2 separate regions of the Homo sapiens genome follow, and region 2 is linked to region 1. Evidence: promoter capture Hi-C in human tissues and cell types (Jung and others, 2019). All regions are on one chromosome and are shown on one strand. Each heading gives the region's core, a stretch centred on a gene start or on the middle of the fragment in contact. The rest is flanking DNA. Distances are from core to core; before and after follow the strand shown.

Region 1 (5,618 bases), core at 1,224-3,723:
GATAAGCTCTACAATATATAAGCATGAATAAAATTTCTGGCTGTGATGGAGGATGCATCCCAGTGAAAACGAGAGAGAACAAGCAATGAACAAAGACATTGAAAATACTTCAAGTACCTTTTTTAATTTTTTAAGCCAAAATTGACAAATGGGATCTAATTAAACTAAAGAGCTTCTGCACAGCAAAAGAAACTATCATCAGAGTGAACAGGCAACCTACAGAATGGGAGAAAATTTTTGCAATCTACTCATCTGACAAAGGGCTAATATCCAGAATCTACAATGAACTCAAACAAATTTACAAGAAAAAAACAACCCTATCAACAAGTGGGCGAAGGATATGAACAGATACTTCTCAAAAGAAGACATTTATGCAGCCAAAAGACACATGAAAAAATGCTCATCATCACTGGCCATCAGAAAAATGCAAATCAAAACCACAATGAGATACCATCTCACACCAGTTAGAACGGCGATCATTAAAAAGTCAGGAGACAACAGGTGCTGGAGAGGATGTGGAGAAATAGGAACACTTTTGGGCTGTTGGTGGGACTGTAAACTAGTTCAACCATTGTGGAAGTCAGTGTGGCGATTCCTCAGGGATCTAGAACTAGAAATACCATTTGACCCAGCAATCCCATTACTGGGTATATACCCAAAGGATTATAAATCATGCTGCTATAAAGACACATGCACATGTATGTTTATTGCGGCACTATTCACAATAGCAAAGACTTGGAACCAACCCAAATGTCCAACAATGATAGACTGGATTAAGAAAATGTGGCACATATACACCATGAAATACTATGCAGCCATAAAAAAGGATGAGTTCATGTCCTTTGTAGGGACATGGATGAAGCTGGAAAGCATCATTCTCAGCAAACTATCACGAGGACAAAAAACCAAACACCGCATGTTCTCACTCATAGGTGGGAATTGAACAATGAGAACACATGGACACAGGAAGGGGAACATCACACACCGGGGCCTGTTGTGGGGTGGGGGGAGGGAGGAGGGATAGCATTTGGAGATATACCTAATGTTAAATGACGAGTTACTGGGTGCAGCACACCAACATGGCACATGTATACATTTGTAACTAACCTGCACATTGTGCACATGTACCCTAAAACTTAAACTATAATAAAAAAAATTTTTTTGTTAATACGTGTATTAGTCTCTTTTCACGTTGCTGATAAAGACATACCCAAGTCTAGGTAATTTATAAAGAAAAAGAGGTTTAATAGATTCACAGTTCCATGTGGCTGGGGAGGCCTCACAATTCTGGCAGAAGGTGAAAGTCACGTCTTACATGGCAGCAGGCAAGAGAGAATGAGAGCCAAGCAAATGGGGAAACGTCTTATAAAACCATCAGATCTCATGAGATGTATTCACTACCATGAGAACAGTATGGAAGAACTGCCCCCATTATTCAATTATCTCCCACCGGTCCCTCCCACAACCCTTGGGAATTATGGGAGCTACAATTCAAGATGAGATTTGAGTGGGGACACAGCCAAACCATATCAATACATAATACTTCTACGTATTTATGGGGTACATGTGATATTTTGTTACATGCATACTTCAAATACCTCTACAGAGGCAGCCACTGTCTCCATCTGACAGTTTTCATGCAACACATGATTGAAGGCCCAGAGCTGCATATATAGAAAAACAGAAAGAAGGATTTTGCTATTTTTGTTTTATTATAGAATCTACTATTTCTCATTTTGGTTGTTCTTGTTGCTCTGTAGATTTGAAGAACATTGGCCATGGTCATGTTCAGAATTTTTCTGACATCAGTTCTGAAAATGGCAAATCATCAAGTGCAGGGGTCAGCAAACTGCTGCTGTTCTTTGTACATCCTACTAGCTGCGAATGGTTTTTACATTTTTTAAAGGTTGCAAAAACATAAGGAACATGCAACAAAGACTGTATGAGGCCCATAAAACTAAAATAGTATCTGTTCCCTTAGAGAAAACATTTGCCAACCCTTGATCTAGAGCATAAAAGTGACATTTCTTTACTCTCTAAATAATTAGAGCAAAATAACAAAGTTCAGGGAATTTATGACTCATGAAATCAAACTTACAGGAAACTCATTATTATAGGGTTAAGACTTTAGTATTTTTCTCAACAGCAAAATCTTCAAATTCTTAAGTGAAAATCTCATCTATTTAATATTACTCTGCTTACTTCTCATTTGGTGATGGGATGGAGGGATTAGAGAAGGGAGAAGGATATTTAGAAATAGGTTATAAAAGATGAAAATAAAGCAAACACATTACTGATTCTGCATATAAAGCCCTCAGTTTTCTGATTCTTGGCTGTCCACAAATGAACTAGTCATGGCATAAAAGTGAAATAGGATCCAAAGTCTGCCAAAGTTCCAGGTTCTGAGATGACATGTTTAATGATGTCATAGAGAAGTTATCCATGTATTCCAGGCAGGATACTGTAATAAATAGGAGACAGCTACAGTGATCCAACTAAACCAACAGGGGATTTTCATCAGCACTTCCCTGGTGTAATCATGGTACAGATTATTAAAGACACGGCAAGTATTTATTTGGCTTCACTGAGTATTTCAAATGTGGACATCTTGGGAACAGATTTGAAAAACTTTAAGAATGTGTTCTCTCTATCCAGTATTCTATCATTGCATTGTAGCAAGGGGAGAGTTCTAAATTCTTGTTCTTTATCTTGTTCCTTGAGGGATGGTACTATCAAGAAAAGCAGCCAAGGGTCAAATTGATAAAGAAGGGCTTTCTTCCTCCTGGACTTTTATTTCCTGCCTGACTTCAGGTGAATCCCAGACCAGCTCCTAGTACATCCCATCCTGTATCTGATCCCATGGATCGTACCTCAGTTGTGCTTGGAAAATTCCATGGAAGTAAGGAAGTCCACATCTTTTCTCTTATCCAAGGAAAAATAATAGAAACCCCAGATGTGGAATGGGGTGGGAAAATTGGGAACAGCCCAATGTTGCTGTCACAACAAATCTAAATTCATGTATAGGACAGAGATAATTCTTGATTTATAAAGGAGAAAATTGCCTCTAAAAGAGAGGTTCAGGGCTAGTTCGTTTAAGAGGTGGTGTGGGCATTAGAACCCAGACCTTCTGATGCCTGCCCTCATTACAAGAAGTCAAGAGCTGGAGGAGGGGAGGGGGTTTGGGGCCTGAGCCTCATGTCCACCAGCAGCCTCAGATTTAGACTTGTGACATTTTCCCCAAAGGTGGCTATACAGATCACAAAAATGACACTGACCAGATTGAAAGAGAGTACTGCCCTGTAACTTCGACATAAGAACATGTTTTGAAACATCACACATTTGCTAATGCTTTTGACACTTATTGTTTTAATATTCTGGGGATGTCACAGAATAGCCTGGAGCCTTATTCCCTCAGAAGACCTTTCATCTCCTCCCCAGGGACCTTTCCAGAGGCCCTGATCTCCATCCCATCTTTATTCAGATGCCACCTTCTCTTTGAGGTTGACCTTGGCCATCCAGACTACAGTTGTAATCCAACCCCCATTCTTCCTTCCTACTTCATTTTCTTTTTATTTTCTTTATTAGCAATTAGCACTAATATACTACAAATATTACCTATTGACCTTATAGTAAGCTTCCCATTCTAAAATGTAAACTCCATGGAGACAGAATGCCTAGTTTTTGTTTTGTTTTGTTTTGTTTTTGTCCACAGTGGTATCCTAGCAGTTTGTGCAGTAGCTGGCATAGTATAGGCCTCAATACGCATATGTTAAATAAATACCTATACTATGAGAGTATTCCCTTCAGATAGTTTAGTCAAGTCAAGTTCATGGGTCCAATTAGGCCAGCTCACACCCAAACAACAACTACTGGAAAGTGAAGAGTGTTGGGAGTTTGTGAGGATAGCATCTACCTTACAACTTCAGAAGCAAGTGAGAAATAAAGGCTTGGCAAGGTTCTCTGAAAAGTTAGTTACTCCCTCCCAGAGGAATATTGATAAAGAAAGAGAGTGCATCTTCTTTGAGTCATCACTTTCACCTGATTGAAACTAAACAAAGTAGCCACATAATTGTCAAGGCTATTATAGAGCAGGCATGTTGTATTAGTCTATTTGCATACTGCTATGAAGAAATGCCCAATACTTGGTAATTTATAAAGAAAAAAAGATCTAATGAACTCACGGTTCCACATGGCTGGGAAGACCTCACAATCATGGTGAAGGCGAAGGAGGGGCAAAGGCATGTCTGACATGGCGGCAGGCAAGACAGCGTGTGCAGGGGAACTGCCCTTTATAAAACCGTCAGATATTTTTAGACTGACTCACTGTCATGAGAACAGCATGGGAAAAACCCACCCCCATAATTCATTTACCTCCCACTAGGTCTCTCCCATGACATGTGGGGATTATGGGAGCTACAATTCAAGATGAGATTTGGGTGGGGACTCAGCCAAACTGTATCACATGTCATTTGTATGGATTAAACCCATCCATAGTGGGAATAGGCCTTGCTTGACTTAATACAATTAACAATCCCATCCCCCTCCTCTTAATGTTCGGTCCAGGAATAAGCACACAATGCAATTAGGGCCAATGAAAGGGAGAATAAGTCCTAATTCTATAATGAACTCAGGAGTGGATTTTCTGTAGTGGTTAAGGAAATAGGAACTGGAGTCAGGCTGCCTAGGATACCAATGCCAGCTACACCACTCACCAGCTAACTGATCATGATAAAGTTAGTGAACTTCACTTTTCTCATTTGTAAAATGGAGATAATAATAGTACACACGTTGTAGTGTTGTTGTAAAGATTATGGGAGAGAATATAGGGCACAGAGTAAATTAGCTACAATTGTTGCAATTCCAGTGAGAAAAGGAAAAGTCTTGAACAGAGTACTATGTATTAGCAAATCATTCATTCATCAAGAAGACACGCAGGCTGGGCGGGGTGGCTCACACCTGTAATCCCAGCACTTTGGGAGACTGAGGTGGGAGGATGGCTTGAGTCCGGGAGGCAGAGTCTGCAGTGAGCTGAGATCGCACCGCTACACCCCAGCCTGGATGAACAGCCAGACCCTGTCACCAAAAAATAAAATTAAATTAAAATAAAAATAAAGAAAACACTCTATGAGCACTTACTCTATGAGTACACTATGAGCACTTATGTGTCAGTTAGGGATCATGGGAGGTACAGGAATGAATCAAGATTAAATCCTGTAAGGACTTGGGGAGATCAATCATGCATGAAATAACTAGTGTAGGACCAGTCACTTGTCATAAAGCAAGCAAATATAGATGCAGTCATCTGAGTCCCAGGAAGGGAAACCTTTATTTACTTAGATGATACAAACAGTTGATGGGAAATTCACTTGACATTCAGCAATAAGCATGTCAAATCCTTAAATGTATAGTTTTAACTGTAGCTGTAATAATGATCACTTCCCCCCCAAAAAACAAGAAATTACTCAAGGTGTGAGATTAATTCTTCTCCTTTTAAAGTTCACTAGTCATGCATGTTTAGGCCCTTGTTTAATAAAAATCCAGTATTATAGATATCCACCCTGAACAGCAGTTCACCTCCACCCTCCAGCCCCCATCCCTCCCTGGCCAACCTGTTTCTC
Region 2 (5,618 bases), core at 1,211-3,710, 38 kb before region 1:
GCATGGGCAAGGACTTCATGTCTAAAACACCAAAAGCAATGGCAACAAAAGACAAAATTGACAAATGGGATCTAATTAAACTAAAGAGCTTCTGCACAGCAAAAGAAACTACCATCAGAGTGAACAGGCAACCTACAGCATGGGGGAAATTTTTTGCAATGTACTCATCTGACAAAGGGCTAATATCCAGAATCTACAATGAACTCAAACAAATTTACAAGAAAAACAGATTTGGACTTTAATAACTGGTGAAGCAGGGAAGATTGAGGAAGTCAATGGATGAATGGCATGAGCCTCAAAAGAAACAGGGGCTATTGCAAGAGAAAGAGGACTCATTGTCTGGCAGCAACAATGAGAAGTGAGATCACCAATACATGGGATGTAAGAGAATGTAGAGCCTTTTGAGGGGGGACATCTTAAAGGAATATCCCAGACTTCACTTAAAGTCTAAAGTCAGAATGAGTGTTGTGTGTGTGATATTGAACAACATAAATGTCTGTTGACAGATAAATGGATAAAAAAATGTATGTTGATAGATGATGATGATGATGATTAAGAAGATAGATTAGATAGACATGCAGATAAAAATAGGCAGATACAATGAAATATTATTCAGCTTTGCAAAAGAAGAAAATCCTGCCATTTACAACAACATGGACTAACCTGGAGGACATCATGCTACATGAAATAAGCCAGACACAGAATGACATATACTGCCTGACTTTGCTGATAGGTGGAATCCAAAACAGTCAAACTCATAGAAGCAGAGAGTAGATGGTGGTTCCCAGGAGCTGGGAGGGGGTGAGGATAGGGAGATGTTGCTCAAGGTATCAAAGTTTCAGTTATGCAAGATGAATAAGTTCTGGAGTTCTAATGTCCAGCAATGTGACTGTAGTTAACAATACTGTATTGTATACTGAAAATTTGCTGAAAGGATAGATCTTGTGTTCTCACCACAAAAAAGAAAGAAAGAAAACAATAACTATGTGAGGGGATGAATGTGCTAATTAGCTCCATTGTGGTGATTATTTCACAATCTATACATAAATCAAAACATCAGGTTGTAAAAAATATATACAATTTTTATTTGTTGCACCTCAATAAAGCTACAGGGAAAACTGAAATAATAGCAGCCAATAAAATGCTGTACTTCTCCACATACTGAAATTCCCTCCTGAGATTCGATTTTTGTCTCTCTTCCTGAAAGCTTGACTCAAGGAAATAGTATGAGATATAAAGGGGCAATTCTATTTTCTGACTCCTTCCCTTCATAATTCCCTACATTTGTGACCCATCCTGCTTCTTTTCCAGCTGTCTGTCGATTTCCATGTCAGAATGGGGGCATCTGCCAACGCCCAAATGCTTGTTCCTGTCCAGAGGGCTGGATGGGGCGCCTCTGTGAAGAACGTGAGTTGCTCTTCAGATCTTACTTTGAGTCCTGACAAATTGCCTGGATGCTCCCACCTGAGGGGAGTTACCAGGAAATGGTTGTACTGTTGGGAAGAATTCATTTGCTGTAAGTCCTTGTCCACACCAAACAGAGCACATATGTGTCAACAGGTTGCAGAAGATCTAGAATATTAATGACTTTGAAAATACTGTTATTAAGATCCATCTAAAGTCATTTTCACATGTTCCCTGGCACAAATTTGCAAAAGTCTTCTTGAGAAGGAGCTTGTTGTAAAGTCTCCAAGCTATCCTCTTCCCTTAACTCAAGGTCTACTATGTGCTATGTCAGTCATTGCTGCAGTTGGTATAAACGTGCACCACTGCAAAACATGTACTTTGCAGGTAATATTTGCAGCTCACCATTTCCTCTTTGTTGTTAAGAATAGTTTCTACTCATTAAGAAAATAAGAAAAGCTGGCACTCCTATATCCATACTTGGTAAATTAATATAGAATTTTGATCCTTATAGAAACAATTTGAAATTCCAGGGAGGTATGGATAGTGATGTTAAATTTTTAAATATCTCAACTACACTTTATTTCAATATCTTAAAATATATATAAGGATAAAATGGTTTCATATTTCAACAGGAGCAGTGTATGTAAACCATTAAGAGTGATTCATGTGATGGCCATTGGTCTATACCAGTTTTTCCTACAGGGCAGGAATTTTATAAGAGACTAAAATGTTTTAAGTGTGACTTTTTCAACTAATCTATAAAGGAAAATGTATGATGGAAATAAATTTAGGCTGCTAACAACTCACCAAAACAAGTATTCTCAAATGATTAAAAAAGAAGAGAAATCACACTTTTCTCTTCCAGCTCACCCCAATCATTCCATTTCACCTAGAGCTCCCAGACTTAGCCTGCCCTTATGTCAAGAGTCCAAAGACTTAGTAAGCATTGACTTTGGGGTACCCCACGACAGGTCTGGCTTGGCTGCCTTAGCTGGTCTGGCTCACTGAGCATGTGCCTGCCCTCCTTCATTATACCAGTGCTTCCCAAGCTTTGCTATGCATACAGATCATCTGGGAGATCAGCAGATCTGAGTTGGTACCTGATATCTGCATTGCTAACCAACTCCTAGGTGATGCAAAGACTATTGGGGTTAGGGAACTTGATTTTGGGGAGCAAAGCAACAAACTCACATCTTTTAAACAGACTATGCCTCTTTAAAGATTTCAGTGATTTCTAGGAGGAGGAATGATAGTCATGAACAGGGTTCGGGAGGCATCATTCAGTCACCGTCAGTCCTCAGCTTCTCGGAAATAAAGGGTGTGTTGTCCCATTGCTACCAAAATGTTGCAAACTCCAACCCTATGTTACAGCCTATCTGATTCCCATTCTCACATTTAGTTCAAGACAGGAAGAGCCTCAAGGCAGCCAAATCCTCTTAGAACATTTTATGTAATTTGTAATGGAAATTTGAAACTATAATAAATGGAGACCGTTCTGCTTATTTTGTGAAGAGTTAAAGCAAAGCACTTTGCAGACACTGATTACGGAGTGTCTTCACTGAAAGTGGATTTGGCCTTAAAGTCATTACATGTGGCTAAGAATCCAGGCTTACTTTCCTGATTGTATTTTCCCAATGATACTCATTAATAAGCAGAACACATGCAGGAAACTTATTTAGTGAGTCATATAAGGTTTCACTCCTGCAAAATGTTTTCTGAACCCTTGAACCTATCTAAGATGTGTACTTTGATCAACGCCATTTCAATCCCCCCTGCCTCCTTTTTTTTTTTTTTTTTTTTTTTTTAGCAATCTGCATTCTTCCCTGTCTGAACGGAGGTCGCTGTGTGGCCCCTTACCAGTGTGACTGCCCGCCTGGCTGGACGGGGTCTCGCTGTCATACAGGTAGGCCTCTTTCATGGTTTGTTTTCTTGGTGGCTCAGGCCCATGAAACTCCAGAGGACATTGAAGAGTGTGACTTAGACTCAGAAGTGGTGGCAAAATGAAAAAGTACTGATGTTTCTCAAAAATTCCTCAAGATGATCCCTTGATTCGTGTCTCAACACTGAATTTTATGGTTGCCTAAACACGTTTCCAGGTCATGTGCCGAAGAATAGCATCTAAGTCTACTCAATTATCTGTCTTCTTTATGTCATCTGCTTCATTTTGCAGAGCATAGAGAAGACATTACACAGAGGTTCAGAATAATACTTATTTTAATCTCTAAGAAGCTAAATTACTAAATTCATGCTTACTCTTTAGAAAGAACAAGGTTATACATAAATACAATTTAAGTTAAAATGAAAAAAAAAACACTTTATCCAGTCTACCATTGATGAGCATTTAGGTTGATTCCGTGTCTTTGCTATTGTGCATAGTGCTGAAATGAACATACACGAGCATGTGTCTTTATGGTAGAATGATTTCTATTATCTTGGGTATATACCCAGTAATGGGATTGCTTGGGTTGAATGGTAGTTCTGTTTTTAGGTTTTTGAGGAATCGCCGTACTGCTTTCCTCAATGGTTGAACTAATTTACACTCTTACCAACAGTGTATAAGTGTTCCCTTTTCTCCACAACCTCCCCAGCATGTTTTTGTTTTGTTTTGTTTTGTTTTTTGAGAACAGAGTTTCACTCTTGTCACCCAGGCTGGACTGCAGTGGCGCAATCTTGACTCACTGAAACCTCTGCCTCCCAGGTTCAAGCAATTCTCCTGCCTCAGCCTCTGGAGTAGCTGGGATTACAGTCACCTGCTGCCATACCCTGCTAATTTTTCTATTTTTAGTAGAGACAGAGTTTCACCATGTTGGCCAGGCTGATCTTGAACTCCTGACCTCAAGTGATCCACCCACCTTGGCCTCCCAAAGTTTTGAGATTACAAGCATGAGCCACTGCATCCAGCCTATTTTTTTACTTTTTAGTAATAGCCCTGCAGCCATAAAAAAGAACGAGATCATGTTCTTTGTGGAATATGGATGGAGCTGGAGGCCATCATCCTTATAAAAGGAACAAAAAACCAAATACCACATGTTCTCACTTATAAGTGGGAGCTAAATGATGGGAACACGTAAACACGTAGGAACAATAGACACTGGAGCCTACTTGAGGGTAGAGGGTGGGAGGAAGGAGAGGATCAGAACAAAATAACTATTGGGAACTAGGCTTAGTACCTGAGTGATGAAATAATCTGTACAACAAACTCCCATGACACAAGTGTACCTATATAACAAACCTGCACATGTACCCTTGAACCTAAAATAAAAGTTAAAAAAAAGTTTAAAGGAAAAGAAATGGAAAAATATTACAAAACTCATCAAAGAGATGGTTTCTTATCATGGACAACAGTAACAAATGGTAGTTGATTGATTAGTAAAAAACATCCTGTTAGCACCTCTTGCAGACCTCAAATACAGCATTTGGCCCACTATACTTTGACATCTGTTCAATTGCTTGATTATCTATCCCTTCCCCCACTAGATTATACGCCACTTGAGGGCAAGGATTTTTTTTTTATCATCTTTATATCCCCAGTGCTTAGCATAGTGCCGAAATATAGTAGATATTTTTAGTAAATGTCAAATAACTCAATTTAAAATGATAAACTACCTTCTAGTGTCCTAAAATTTTAAGCCACCACTTAAAACATAGGGCTTGCTATATTTATGAAGTATTAATTCTGACATACCACTATTCCTCCTATAAACAATGTTTATACCACCTCCTCAGTGGAGTAAAACATAAATGGCATGTAAAGTATAGACAGGGCTTCCTAACACCAGAGCTTGTCATGAACCCTAAGGCTGGAAAGACCATATAATTTAGCTTCCAAACCAGGACATTTTTGAGAGTAAAAGAGGCACTATTAATAAGTAAACCAGAGAAATGAGACTGAAAAGTACTGTTACAGACAAAAGCAGATGTGCAGTCGTCACCCTACCTAAAGCCAAAATTGAGCCATTCATGAATGTAGAGAAGGAAATATGTCCTGGAGGCTGAATTTGAAGGCCTTATTTGAGACTCTGAAAGCAGTCTATATAGTGTTTGTTTATAACAAATCAACTTTGCTATTTACCCACGTTTCTCCTGCTCATCTATAAACAAGCTCTGCTTTTTTCCAGGTACCTTACTGGTGCAGGTAATAAATGAATTACTCTTGACTCACCCTCCCTTTCATCTGAGGTTACAGCACCATCATTATTTTTGTTCCTTCC

What was found. The method cuts DNA at HindIII sites, captures the fragments that hold promoters and counts their contacts. A contact is called where the count stands out against the background at its distance.
Region 2: a contact is called between a fragment that was not itself captured here and the fragment with the promoter of TXNDC8 in region 1, in 1 of the 25 tissues and cell types used here (aorta).

The regions. Positions count from the first base shown.
Region 1 is chr9:110,334,718-110,340,335 of GRCh38, reverse strand. It overlaps TXNDC8 (thioredoxin domain containing 8), which reads left to right and starts at 2,473. Exons shown (of 6, transcript NM_001424031.1): 1 at 2,473-2,563. The coding sequence starts at 2,540. LOC124902245 (a long non-coding RNA gene) reads right to left here and starts at 4,132. Exons shown (of 2, transcript XR_007061728.1): 1 at 2,099-4,132; 2 at 1,694-1,811. The HindIII fragment of the contact is 11,230 bases long and covers 1-5,618 here.
Region 2 is chr9:110,373,060-110,378,677 of GRCh38, reverse strand. It overlaps SVEP1 (sushi, von Willebrand factor type A, EGF and pentraxin domain containing 1), which reads left to right. Exons shown (of 48, transcript NM_153366.4): 45 at 1,312-1,407; 46 at 3,215-3,310. Among named protein-coding and RNA genes, the nearest start is that of TXNDC8, 38 kb to the right of the region's middle. RefSeq lists an enhancer at 1,091-1,260. The HindIII fragment of the contact is 4,580 bases long and covers 171-4,750 here.